Linked DNA regions of Homo sapiens: region 2 is linked to region 1. The links are contacts of gene promoters, found by promoter capture Hi-C in human tissues and cell types (Jung and others, 2019). All regions are on one chromosome and are shown on one strand. Each heading gives the region's core, a stretch centred on a gene start or on the middle of the fragment in contact. The rest is flanking DNA. Distances are from core to core; before and after follow the strand shown.

The links. The method cuts DNA at HindIII sites, captures the fragments that hold promoters and counts their contacts. A contact is called where the count stands out against the background at its distance.
Region 2: a contact is called between a fragment that was not itself captured here and the fragment with the promoter of NLRC4 in region 1, in 2 of the 25 tissues and cell types used here (liver and mesendoderm cells).

What each region holds. Positions count from the first base shown.
Region 1 is chr2:32,262,837-32,269,583 of GRCh38, reverse strand. It overlaps NLRC4 (NLR family CARD domain containing 4), which reads left to right and starts at 4,698. Exons shown (of 9, transcript NM_001199138.2): 1 at 4,698-4,846. The HindIII fragment of the contact is 13,663 bases long and covers 1-6,747 here.
Region 2 is chr2:31,444,502-31,452,091 of GRCh38, reverse strand. No RefSeq gene overlaps it. Among named protein-coding and RNA genes, the nearest start is that of XDH, 34 kb to the right of the region's middle. The HindIII fragment of the contact is 5,591 bases long and covers 1-5,390 here.

The sequences.
Region 1 (6,747 bases), core at 3,449-5,948:
CACACCCAGCCAGGATGAATGATTTTAGATACTGTCTAGCAAGCCCTGCTCATTTTTTCCTATCAGGACTACTCTCAGTAGCCCTGAGTCCAGCGACCCACAAATCTAGAGCATCAGTGGATGGTGGGGGTACACCCTCCTGCCTAGCTTCTGGAGGCTTCTCTCTGTAGCACTGAGGAAGTCTGGAATTTTCAGTCCTCCACTAGAGCTGGGAGTAGCAGAGAGAGAGAGAGCCAGTGTGTCAGGCAGGGGTGAAGAACATGCATCCGAAGGCTGAGATGTAGACTGCCGACTTGGAACAAGAGGAGGAGGTAGCCATATCTTAGCAACCTGGTAAATGACTGCTACCTTGGGGATGTTAGTATCATAATCTGGGAAACTGCCCAAATACTGGAATACAAATGCAAGGAGTGCAAAAAGTATGACGAGACTGAGCGTGGTGGCTCATGCCTGTAATCCCAGCACTTTGGGAGGCTGAAGCGGGCAGATTGCTTTACACGAGGAGTTTGAGACCAGCCTGGCCAACAAGGCAAAAACCTGTCTCTACTAAAAATTACAAAAATTAGTCAGGCATGGTGGCACATGCCTGTAATCCCAGCTACTCGGGAGGCTGAGGCAGGAGAATCGCTTGAACCTGGGAGATGGAGATTGCAGTGAACTGAGATCATGCCACTGCACTCCAGCCTGGGTGACAGAGTTAGACTCTGTCTCAAAAAAAAAAAGCATGACTAATTCCCCTAAAGAAGTAACTTTATCATTAACTGACTCCTTGTACATGATTTTCATTTGTCATAGGCATCTGAAACATGTTCCCTCTTCCCTATGCCATGCCTCCGCAAATAACACAGTTATCAAACCTATTTGAAATTCTTTCTGCTTCTTGCCAAATATCTCTAGTTGTTTCAAATGTTAATTTTAGAACAGGATTTCAGACTCCTTGAGAGTCAATCTGTCCTCCAGCATTTAGTTTATTCTACCAAAGCCTCTTTTACATAGAGTATCTGAATTATTAGTCCAATTTTAAGGGGTGAGGATGGGGAATTATATATATTTGTATACTTATAAATATTTGTATTTATATACTTACATATAAATATATGTATTTATATAATATTGTATATAAATGTATTTATATAATATATGTAAATATATGTAACTTATATTTATAAATGATATATTTATATATGTATATGTAATATCATGTATAATATATACTTGTTATATATAAATTATAATAATATACATAATATAAATATAGATATGGCAGAGGATAATAGGCACAATGTACTTCTATTTCCTAAAGGAGGTAGTCAAGAAGATTTAACCCTCCTGGCCAGGCACTGTGGCTTACACCTGTAATCCCAGCACTTTGGGAGGCTGAGGTGGGCAGATCACCTGAGGTCAAGAGTTCGAGACCAGCCTGGCCAACATGGTGATATCCCATCTCGACAAAAATACAAAAATTAGCCGGGCGTGGTGTCAAACATCTGTAAGCACAGCTGCTCGGGAGGCTGAAGCAGGAGAATGGCGTGAACCCGGGAGGCAGCGGCTGCAGTGAGCCAAGATCACGCCATTGCACTCCAGCCTGGGCGACAAGAGTGAAACTGTGTCAAAAAAAAAAAAAAAAAAAGCCCGTGCATAGTGGTGCGCACCTGTAATCCCAGCTACTTGGGAGACTGAGGCAGGAGAATCGCTTGAACCCAGGAGGTGGAGGTTGCAGTGAGCTGAGATTGCAGCCACTGCTCTCCAGCCTGGGTGACAAAGTGAGAATCCGTCTCAAAAAAAAAAAAAAAAAAAAATTGACCCCTCTTTATTAAGGCATATTAGGAAGCTGCCTGCCTGATTTGGCCCAGTGACTTCCCTGCCACTAAATATGTAAGCAGAAGACTAACAGAATTCCAGAATAATTATTTTTGGAGTTATGAGTTACAGGCCTCTAGGAAGAAAAGTATCGTGACTTTTTCCTTCCCTCCGCATTAAACTGGGAGTTAAAAGCATGAGTAGCTACATATGCTTAAAGTCACAGAATAGTTAGTGCCATGTGGTACTTCACAGATGGCATCTCAGCTGATATTCACAACAACCCTGGGGCAACTTGGGGAACCATCATTGCACTGCTAAGAAGCTAAGGTGACTTGTATTAGTCACAGGAAGGAACCCAGACTTGAACTCAGGTCTACTTGGCTCCAGAGCTCTGGGCATTTCCACTTTACCACACTCCTAGGATAATAAGCGTTGGGAGAGACTGGGAGGAAGAACATAAGGGCAGGGGACGTAACTGTTGGAACGTAGGATGCCGAAGTTACTAGTTAATTACCTATTTGAAATGCCCTGAAAACACCTGACTGCAAATCCACTCACAAAGGAAACTGGTGAGGCAGCCCAGAAGATGTACTTGAATGAATATGGATATAATTTTGCTTATTTTACTATGAAATACTACTGTATTAGTCTACTGTGGTTGCTGTAACAAAATATCATAAACTGGGTGGTTTAAAACAACAGAAATTTATTCTTTCACAGTTCTGAGGACCAGTCCAACATCAGTATCATGGGGCTGAAATCAGGGTGTCAGCAGGGCCACACTCCTGGGAGCTTTAGGGGAGAATCCATTTATGCCTCTTCCAGCTGCAGGTGGCTGCTGGCATCTTTTGGCTCGTAGCCGTATTACTCGAATCTCTGCATTCATGGTCTTACTGACTTCTCCTGTCAGTTTCAAATCTCCCTCTGGCTCTCTGTAATAAGGGACCATTATTAAGGGCCCACCTGGATCATCCAGAATTCTCTCCCCATCTTCAGAGCCTTAAATGGAACATATCTGGAAAGACACAATATTTACAGTTCCCAGGGATTAGGATTTGGGATATTTGGGTAGCCACTATTCAGCCTACTACAACCATATTTCTACATTTTCCCTTTTTATTCTATATTACATCATTTATTAGTACAAAAGTAATAGGTGTTTGCTATGAAGAATTAGAATATACAGGTTGGGCATGGTGGCTCCCGCCTGTAATCCCATTACTTTAGGAGGACAACACAGGTGGATCACTGGAGACCAAGAGCTCAAGACCAGCTTGGCCAACATAGCAAAACCCTGTCTCTACTAAAAATACAAAAAATTAGCCATGGTGGTGGCCCACACCTGAAATCCCAGCTACTTGAGAGGCTGAGGCACAAGAATTGCTTGAGCCTGGGAGGCAGAGGTTGCAGTGAGCCAAGATTGAGCCACTGCACTCCACTCCAGCCTGGGCAACAGAACGAGACTCTGTCTCAAATAAATAAATAAATAAATAAATAAACAAATAAAATAAAAAATAAATAAGTTGATAAATAAAATTAGAATATACAGATAAGCCAAAGACAGAAATTTAAAATTGCTTATAATTGTATTCCCCAGCAATAAGCATCATTACTATTTTGGTGGCTGTCTTTGCAGTTTTTTCTCTTGAACATATGTTTATATATAGGTTTCATTACAATTTAAAAATCTAGCTGATAGTGTAGCCCTCAATCTCACTTCAGAGAAACCCACCTCACAAGTTGGGAAACACTGACACTGATGCCCCCTTAGAAAACCCAGGATGTAGACATTTATTTGCCGGGAAACTTTGGTATCCCTCTATGGCAGATAGGCTACTGTCAGAATGCTCTTTTTGAAATAAGAAGTTATGTAACACAAAGACATGTTCCTGGTAGTTTATGCAAAGACAGAGGAAAGAGTATGCAAGAATGTCATCCTCAAGGGAAGTGCAGAGAGATTTCTTCAGTCCTCAGCTGAGTATAAGCTGGCCTCCTGGAGTCTGTGAACACAAACGTCCAATGTGAGTGTGCCTGTGCAAGCCCCTGGCTGTTTATACTCCGGAGGGTGTCCCCGTGCGTCATCGGTGGAGTGGACCAAAACTGGTGATCTGTTTGCCCTGTGTGACCTTGCCCAGAACCCTGCTGACTGAGAGAACACATCTGCTGGAAGTCCTCTGGGATTCAAGGTACAGGGGTAAGCATGACCTTGAATGCAGTAGCAATGTGCTTTAGCCAACTAAGCTGGCTCATTTCATTTACCGCTCTATCTCCCATGGTTAAGCATTAAAAATACATGTTGTGGCTGGGCATGGTGGCTCACGCCTGTAATCCCAGCACTTTGGGAGGCTGAGGCTGGCAGATTGCCTGAGGTCAGGAGTTCGAGACCAGCCTGGCCAACATGGTGAAATTCTGTCTCTACTAAAAATACAAAAATTAGCCGGGCATGGTGGTGCACGCCTGTAGTCTTAGCTACTGGGAGGACTGAGGCGGGAGGAACGCTTGAACCCGGGAGGCAGAGGTTGCAGTGAGCTGAGATTGTGCCACTGCCCTCCAGCTTGGGTGACAGAACAAGACTCTGTCTCAAAAAAAAGAAAAAAGAAAGAAAAAGAAAAAAAATATATGTTGGATGTTCAGAAGACTTTGTTTCATTTTAAGGTATAGAATAAGTAACTCAACAGCAATGAATTCATATGTTGTGAACAAACAGGAAACAAATGAGTAATTCCTTTCTTGACGGAATTTCTAGCTCTTGCATCTTTTACTCTGAAGTTCTACTTCTTCCCCGGCTACTCCTGCCTACACCCATCTTCCCTTTCTGAACTGGTAGTACTTGTGTCCAAACCACTCTTACTGTGCTTTGAAAAAAAAAAAAGGAACTGCTCAGCAGTTCCCCTCTCTGTACACTGTCCTCTCACAGAACAAGAAGGTATCTGGTCTACAAGAACTCGAGGCCTCACTGAAACGGAAAGCAAATACAAAGAAACTTTATTTTAAAAACATGTCTTGGTCTCCCAAGAAGAGGGCAATTGGATTGCTCAGCCAGGTACTGTGGGTAGAGAGAATGGGATTTTTAAGGTCTGGGGCCCAAATATTAAAATCTGGGTTTACATTCATTTAAAGCTTGTGTCTGGGATGTACAAAAGCCTTAACATTGACGAGTGTGATTTGCATGCCTGGCTGGATTTGCCTGCCGAGAAACCTTTAGGGGTGGTTAATCGGGTCTGCTGGGGCTTCATCAGGTTCAAGGGGTACATGTACCCCTTGGACTACTGTGAGATGGAAAGGACTTTGGAAACACTTTTTGGCATTACAGAAAGGAAACTCACTCTTTTTTTTTTTTTTTTTTTGAGACAGAGTCTTGCTCTGTCACCCAGGCTGGACTGCAGTGGCGTGATCTCGGCTCACTGCAACCTCTGCCTCCTGGGTTCAAGCAATTCTCCTGCCTCAGCCTCCCAAGTAGCTGGGATTACAGGCACCCGGCACCGCGCCCCAGCTAATTTTTGTATTTTTAGTAGAGACAGGGTTTCACCATGTTGGCCAGACTGGTCTCAACTCCTGACCTCGTGATCTGCCCACCTCAGCCTCCCAAAGTGCTGGGATTACAGGTGTGAGCCAACGTGCCCGGCCAGGAAACTCACTCTTGTTGCTAAGACTGTTGTTAGAATCACAGATGATCAAAGCTGAAAGGAACGAGGTGGACTACTTAGTCCATCCAATCTCCCAAGTTACTGATGAGAAACCTGATATTTGGAGACAGAAGTGAAGGAAATCACCCTTTACGGGACACCTATTTCGTGATAGGGTCTTTATGTACATTATCTCAGTAGATCCTTGCAGCCTGGCTTTGAGAGGTGGAAAATGTGGTAGAGAGGAGTTAAATGTCCTGCCCTACATCACACTGCTAATTGTCTACAAAACTAGGATAGAACCTGGTCAGCACACTTCTTAACTGTTCACACACTTTTATAATATTAGTCGTATTAATGTGTTTAAAATACCATAGACTGGGTGGCTTAAACAACAGAAATTTATATTCCCACAGTTCTGGAGGCTGCAAGTCCAAGACCAAGGTGTCAGCAGGGTTGGCTTCTCCCCACGCCTCCCTCCTTGGCCTTTTCTCTCTGTATGCACATTCCTGGTATCTCCCTTTGTGTGTCCCGATTTCCTCTTCTCATAACAGCCTCATTTGAGCTTAATGACCTCTTTAAAGGCTCTGTCTGCAAATACAGTCACATTCTGAGGTTCAGGGCTTCAACATATGGATTTGGGGGAAGCCCAGTTCAGCACATAACACTAATATTAACATGTGAGATTGCTGAAGCCTATTAAAGACCTAAGAACATTCTAGTCTAGAGCCTTTTTACTAGAAAGGAAGACAGATAATACCCACTGACCATCTTTGTCACAACTACTTTCATGTTTAATCTTCACAATAGTCCAGGGAGGTGAATATTATGCATGATTTGGAAAGCAAGATTCGGAAAGGCTAAGTAACATGTCTAGGGATACTTACCTCATAAGGTGCAGAGTGAGGATTTGAATTCAGATCTGCAATGCCAAAGCCCACACACATTTTCCATTTCTGTGTGCTTCCTGTCTGCTCCTAATTATATGTACTCTTTCCCTTATTTTATCTGTGAGGTGTGGGAATGACCCCATAGACGTGGGTTATATGGGTCCAGAGAAACTTCAGTTCTCTGAGGAGCTCATGTAACCTTTTTTAAGAAAATGCCAATTTTAGAATTAGTACTAAATATTATTTTCCAGCTGGGCATGGTGGCTTATGCCTGTAATCCCAGCACTTTGGGAGGCCGAGGCAGGCAGATTGCCTATATATATATAATATATATTATTATATTATTTTCCAATGTACAAATGTGGGGGAAGGACTTCTTCCACCCAATTCAGTTATTCACTGGACAGCTTGCGGGGAGGGGTTGCAGG
Region 2 (7,590 bases), core at 1,346-3,845, 820 kb after region 1:
ATTGAAGAATTACTGGGTATTCATTGCAGTCTTTGCTGTCTGGGCTTGTTTGTACCCATTCTTCTTGGGAAGGCTTTCCAGATATTCAAAAAGACTTGTGTGTTGTGATCTGAGCTATATCTGCTTTAGGAGACATCCCAAGCCCAGTAATGCTGTGGTTCTTGCAGACTCATAGAGGTACTACCTTGATGGTCTTGTAAAAGATCCAGAAGTATTCCCTGGATTACCAGACATAGACTCTTGTTTTCTTCCTTTACTTTCTCCCAAACAAATGGAGTCTTTCTTTTTCTTTCTTTCTTTTTTCTTTCTCTTTCTTTCTTTCTTTTTTCTTTCTTTCTTTCTTTTTTCTTTCTTTCTTTCTTTCTTTTCTTTCTTTCTTCTCTCTCTCTCTCTTTCTTTTCTTTCTTTCTTTCCTTTGTCTCTCTCTCTCTCTCTCTCTCTCTCTCTCTCTCCCCCCCCCACCCCGAAGCTGGGTGCAGGGTGACATAAGCACCCCTATGGCCACCACCACTAGGACAGTGCTGGTTCTGACCTCAAGCCAATACAGCATTAGGTCTCACCCAAGGCCTATTGTAATCATTACCTCATTACTGCCTATGCTTGCTCAATGCCTTAGGGCTCTGTGATCAGCAGGTGGCAAAGCCATCCAGGCCTGTGTCCTTCCCTCCAGGATGACATGTTACCCCAGGCCTCAGGCAAGTCCAGAGGTGCCATCTGGAAGCCAGGTCAACAACTTTAGAAGTCTATCTAGTGTTCTGTTGTACTCTGATTGAGCTGTCCCCCAAACCACAACATATAGTTCTTCCCACTCTTCCCTCCCCTTTCCAAAGGCAGAGGAGCCTCATCCCATGGCCACCACCAACACAGACACACTGAGAGTGCTACCAGACTACCACCTATGTTCCTTAAAGACCCTATGGCTCTTCAGTCAGCTTGTGGTGAATGATGCCTCGCCTGGGACTCACTGTTCAGGGCAGTGGGTTCCACTCTGCCCCAGAGCAGATCCAGAAATGCCATCCAAGTCCTAGGTCCTGGAATTGGGGGCTCCAAGAGCCTGCTTGGTGCTCTACGCACCTATGGCCTAGCTGGTACCTGAGGTGAAAGACAGAGCTCCCTTTATTTTTCCCTCCACTTTTCTCAAGCAGAAGGAGTCTCGCCCCATGGCCACTACAGCTCAGAATGTGCTGAGTCTCACCTGAATCCAGCTAGTCTCAGAGTCTCACCCAAGGCCCACGATGTACTACCTGGGTATTGCTGGTGGTTATTCAGGGCCCAAGGCTTCTTCAGTTAGCAGGTGATGAATCCTGCCAGAAGTAGGTCCTTCTCTTCAAGGCAGTAGGTCCCTTTCTGGTGTAGGGTATGTGTAGAAATATCATCTGAGAGCTAGGACCTGGAAAGGGTGTCTCATGCCTCTGACCAATGCCGTAATCCTGCTGTGGCTGAGCTGGTATCCAATGTGCAAAACAAAGACCTCCCCACTCTTACCTCTCCTCTCCTCAAGCAGAAGGAAGGGAGCTCTTTTGGAGCCATGAGCTGTGCAGCCTGGGGTTAGGAAAGGGGTGATGCCACTCCCTTAGCCACTCTAGCTGATGTCTCAGTAGGTCATGTTCCCACTCCTCCCCTACCCAGTACACAGGCACTGGACCTAGTTCAGCACTAGGACTCACCTAGAAGGTTCAGACTTTGTGGCCTAGATTGCCATCCAAGTTAATTTAGGGCCCCAGAGCACTTTAGATCATGATGGAAAGGCTTGTGGGAACTCAAGTTCTGACCACTGAGATTGGTGATTCCTCTCTGGCTAGGAATGTTCACTCCATGGGTGGGTGTCAGCTGAGTTTGGTCCAATTTTGCTTTCTGCTATAACAGGGCAGAACTGAGTTCAATGTCTCACAAATGCTGCACTCTCCTTCTTCCCAACATAGAATCGCTCTCTGCATCATGCTGTCACTGCTGGATATGGGGAAGGGGTGGCATTGGTGATTCAGTACTGCTTTTCCTACCTCTTCGATACCTCTTTCAGTGATGCAAAGTTAAAACCAGATACTATGAGTGCTCACCTGTGTTTTGATTCTCATGAACGTACTTCTTTGGTGTGTAGATAGTTGTTAAATTGGTGTCCTTCTGGGAGCATGATTGATGGCGCCTTCTACTTTGACATCCTGCCCCATGCTACCTCCTCTGTGACTTCTAATCTTAATTACAGCCTGGGGTGTCCACTGTCCAATTTCCTAGGCATGAGAGGCAGCAAGCAAGGCAGTGACTTTTTGTATCTATAGCTACAGTGACAGTCTCAAAGGAGTCGTTTCCATGATGGATGAGTTCTATACTCCTGGGGATTATTCCAGGAGGACCAGTCTAGAACCTGATCCTTAAGCCCCTACAATGATTTTGAAAATATCTAATTCTCTGAATTAAGTCCCTTCCTGCTTAAAATTCTCAAAGTAGTTTCTACTTTCTGAACCGAAGAATGGAACCCATAAAAAGACATAAGAGTTGTTGCCTGGGAAAGGCCAATTGACCCATCATGAAGAAGCCTCACATTGCCAAGTGACATTTACCTTGGTGAATACACTGAGTTCCAGTAAAGGCCCTTGGCTTGCGATCTTAGGACCCAATATACTAGAGATGATAGGGGTTAGATGCTCAGTAATGCTAACAGAGCTATCAAGAAGAAGATTTATAAAACCCAAATGCTGTTTTAATTATTTACAATGAGGAATGTGTTATGAGGAAGACTAGAAGCATATTGGCCTGACCAGCACTTTTGCTGATTTGTGATCGAGACACATGAGAACTCAATTTTTCAAAGGATTCTCATTGAGTAGGTGTATTAGTCTGTTTTCATGATGCTAATAAAGACATACCTGAGACTGGGAAGAAAAAGAGGTTTAATTGGACTTACAGTTCCACATGGCTGGGAAGGCCTCAAAATCATGGCAGGAGGTGAAAGGCACTTCTAACATGGTGGGAGCAAGAGAAAATGAGGAGGAAGCAAAAGCAGAAACCTCTGATAAACCCATCAGATCTCATGAGACTTATTCACTATTATGAAAGTAGCATGGGAAAGACCTGCCCCCATGATTCAATTACCTCTCCCTGGGTCCCTCCCACCACACATGGGAATTCTGAGAGATACAATTCAAATTGAGATTTGGGTGGGGACACAGCCAAACCATATCAGTAGGCAACGGAAGCAAAAGAAGAGCCACCACAGGGAAGGACTTGCCCCCTGGACCAGATTAACCAAGGGTCCTGGGCACCCTCTCCCCTGGACAGTGCTTGAATGCATTTTCCAAAATGGTGTCTCTGGGCTCCTCTTTTTCTGTGCTTTCAAAGCAGATCATTTTCCCTTCTGATCCTAAACATGGAGGTGCAGGCAGGCAAGGGGGTAAATTGCAATGTGAACACTGATTACGCCTTCCTAAGTAATCTGCCAACAAGAGACTCAATCTGAAGAGTTTTCTCCTCAAACAGAACTTTGGCCTAATTTCTGTTTAACACTCATTATCTTCAGAAAAGTGTGCAACAGCTGAGCTAAGGTGAGCTCTAGTCAGGAAGACTAGGCTTAATATTGATAAACAAGAAATAAACTCTACGTCTTTAAGAAGAGGCTGTATTTAACAAAGCATCCGGCTGTGCTATTTTCTGACATGAAAGAGTAGCCCTCGGAGAATTTCCTAGATTGGTTGGCATCAGTCAAAGAAGACTAAATCATTCTTCACAAATAACGAAAGCAAAATTTTGAGTGTTCAAGGGCAACTTCGAAGCAGACGAGGTGAGGACAGCACCTCTCCAACCCCACCCTGCCTCATGATTCCTTCCATCTTCCTCCCCTCACCAAAGACACAAGGAATAACCTAAGGAAAAAATAGAGGGTGTGTTGGGAAGAGGTCCTAGCAAGATGCACAAAACAGAGAAGAGAAGGCAGATGAGAAGTTCTATATTCAATCTTGGGGAGTTTCTCAGGACTGTGACTTCTCTGCTAGTATTCCAAGATCTTCACTACATCCCTACTCTTCATATCTCCATGTATGAATGATGCTTGGGAAAATGTTTTCAAAAAGGGACTGAGTGCTCCAGGTTTGGGTTTATGTAAGGTAGAGAAGAAAAGAGCTGCAAGAGGGAAGATACAGCAGAGAACAAGAATTCTGTGACAGGAGAAAGTTGAACCAAGTGATGACCAGGAGAAATATTAACATAAGTCTCTAAGAATTCCTAGCAATCATAGTGAAAGAAGGGTGGAGAGAGCTTGTCATATGCATGACAGAGTCATTTAATCCACTTTTGTTTAAATCTCAAAGGATAGGGCAATTGGGATGGCCTGGAAAACTTGGGCCAGAATCAATGCAGTCAAAAACTTGGGCCAGAATAAATGCAGTTAACAGAGAAGGAAGGGGTTAAGTAGAAGATAATGTATTGTAAAGCCTTGTGTCTTGCATGTAGAACAGATATTTCACCTTCTTAATATTCTTCTTATCCACTTGAAAATTGTCAATAACTTGACTTTCCAGAAGCCAGAGGAAAAGCTTTTCCTCTGGCATTTCTTAGACTCTTGTCATCCACCCCATGTTGTCTGACTGGCCAATGTGGTTGCCTTTTAATTTCTAAAAGCATCCCTGCACACTCTTCTCACTGTACACGAGGTCACGTCAATTCGTGCTTCTCTGACTTAAAAGAAAGCACAGTACCTCCTCTTTGTTCTTTAATTCTTAAAAGAATTCTGATGGAGAGCAATAAAATTTCAGCCTAGTAAAGATACTAGGGTCTTAAATACTTGATGAAAGGCCCTTTCTTTTGATAGGAGAATATCTTCTTCCAATTAGAAAAAAACAAACAGATTCTTAAGGTTAAGTCACGTAGCTTCTTGCCTGGTGCCCACATGAGAGCTTCTACGGACTCATGTGAGTGAAGTCCTGTGGTAGAAATGATTTCTTGTTACAGAAGAGGACAAAGCTGAGCATGAGGAGTGGAAATAGTCAGACAGCTATGTGTGCTCTCTGGAAAGTTCTACGAGGCTGCCAAATGCTTCCCTTGAAAGAGTGAGACAGAGTGCCTATAAAAAATCATGATACCAGGCTGTCTAAAGCTTTTAAGTGCCTTAGTCAGAGCCAAAAATTCTTATTCATCAGAAAGGATTTTGTGGGTAAAAGGAAAGTTTTGGACTAAGTTTTTTAAACTTCTTGAATAGGGCCAGAGTCAAATTTATAGTAAATAAAACTTAGTGACTTATGGCAGCATTTTCCACAATACCCAAAAGTGGAAGCAACCAATGTGCCCATCACAGATGCACGGCTGAACAGAATATGGTCTATCCAATGATAGATTATTCAATCTTAAAAAGGAAGAAAGTTCTGACACGTGCTACAATATGGATGAACCTTGAGGGCTTTACGCTAAGTGAAAGAAGTCAGTCACAAAAAAGGACAAATACTGCATGACTCTATAGAGTGGTAAAATTCATAGAGACAGAAAGTAGAATGATGGTCGCCAGGGGATAGGGGGAGGAGGGAATTGGAAGTTATCATTTAATGGGTACAGAGTATAAATTTGGAAAGGTGAAACAAGTTCTAGAGACGGATGATAGTGATGGTTGCACAACAATGTGAATGTACTCAATGCCACTCACCTGTCCACTTAAAAATGGCTAAAATGGTAAATTTTATGTCATGTATACTTTACCACAATAAAAAAAAGCTTAGTGGGAATAATATTGTGTTATTTTGTAAAAGTTTGCGTGTTAAAAAATCACATTGTGGGGGAAGCACTCACAAGAAAAATGTTCTGTTGTTTGAATCAACCAGGAAACCCTTCACACAAAGCACATTAATCACAGAAAAGTCTCTGAGAAGACCTGCATTGAAATTATACTACATTGTTTAACCCAGCATTTCATATGTGTATTTTGAGTCTAGGACACTTCTTTCCAAAGATTTCTTAAATACCCATCAGAACTGGTATTCTGCGAAATATCAGTTTGGAAAGCACCATTTTAAACTATTCTCCTATCTGTATAGTAACTGTGTCTAGAAAGTAATGAAAGATTTTCTTCATGGACTTTGGAAGTGCAGTTCTTTATAGAAATACCTCAGAACTTTATGACGGCAATTAGAGATTAATTATTTTGTTATGTTTTGTTGTTTCAATAAAGAGACCACAAGAAAAAGCTCTCCAGGAGTTGAAAGGTCCTCTGGCTACTACTTGAAAATTTTTAGTTGTTAATTCAAACAACTATTCAAAATTCAACTATTAATTAATAGTTGTTTGAATTTTGCTGATAATGGAGGCACCACCACTGTTACCTTAGTGGTAGCTACATGGTTTGCAGGCATGTGACCTGCAAATACAAATCAGTCAATTGACAGTAACCATCACCCAAATGGCTTTCCTTATCTGCCAGGGCTTCCCTTCAAGTTGCCTGTTGTGAGTTGTCTGCGGGTCCCACTTGGATGGAGAGGTTTATGTAAGAAACAGTCTCATTCTCACAGTTATTATTTTATGCTTAGATTTTCCCTACATCTCCAATCATGAATAGTTGCAGAAAAGAAATTCTCTCACAGTGTATCTCATGCTCATGAGCCAACATTTTGAGCAAATTATTTTTACTTTCTGGAAATAAGGAACTTGGACTAGATTACAAAAGTCCTATTACCTTTTAAAAAAATCACTTTTTTTTCAGATAAAAGCATAATTTTCCTTCTTGGCAAATCAATATTTCTTTATCTTATTAAAATTTCAGGCCTAGATATTTCTTGTTTTATAAGAACTAGCATTTTGAATACAGGGGTTTTTTCAAGTTTAAAAAATCAATATTGTTTAATGTCTACAACAATACTGTGTTTATTTGCTGAATTTTTAAAAATTAATTTTTTGTGAGTACATAGTAGGTATATGTATTATGGGGTACATGATATGTTTTGATACAGGCACGTGGTGTGGAATAAGCACATTGTGGGGAATGGAATATCCATTATCCTTTGAGTTACAAACAATCAAATTACACTGTTTAAGTTATTTTAAAATAAATACAATTTACAGTTGCAAATAGTATTTACAATTAGGTTATTATTGCACAATTAGGTTATTATTGACTACAGCTACCCCATTGTGCTGTCAAATAGTAGATCTTATTCATTCTTTCTGTTTTTTTGTACCCATTAACCATCTCTACCTCCCCCCACCACACCCCTGCCCTTCCTGGCCTCTGGTAACCATCCTTCTACTCTATACGTTCATGAATTCAATTGTTTTGATTTTTAGATCCCACGAATAAGTGAGAACATGCGATGTTTGTCTTTCTGTGTCTGGCTTATTTCACTTAATATAATGATCTCCAGTTCCATCCATGTTGTTGCAAATGACAGGTTCTCATTCTTTTTTTATGGCTGAATAGTACTCCATTGTATATGTGTACCACATTTTATTTATCCATTCATCTGTTGATGGACACTTAGGTTGCTTCCAAATCTTAGCTATTGTAAACAGTGCTGCAACAAACATAGGAGATCAGTATATCTCTTCAATACACTGATTTCCTTTCTTTTGGGTTTATGCCCTGCATGGGATGCTGGATCATATGGTAGCACAATTTTT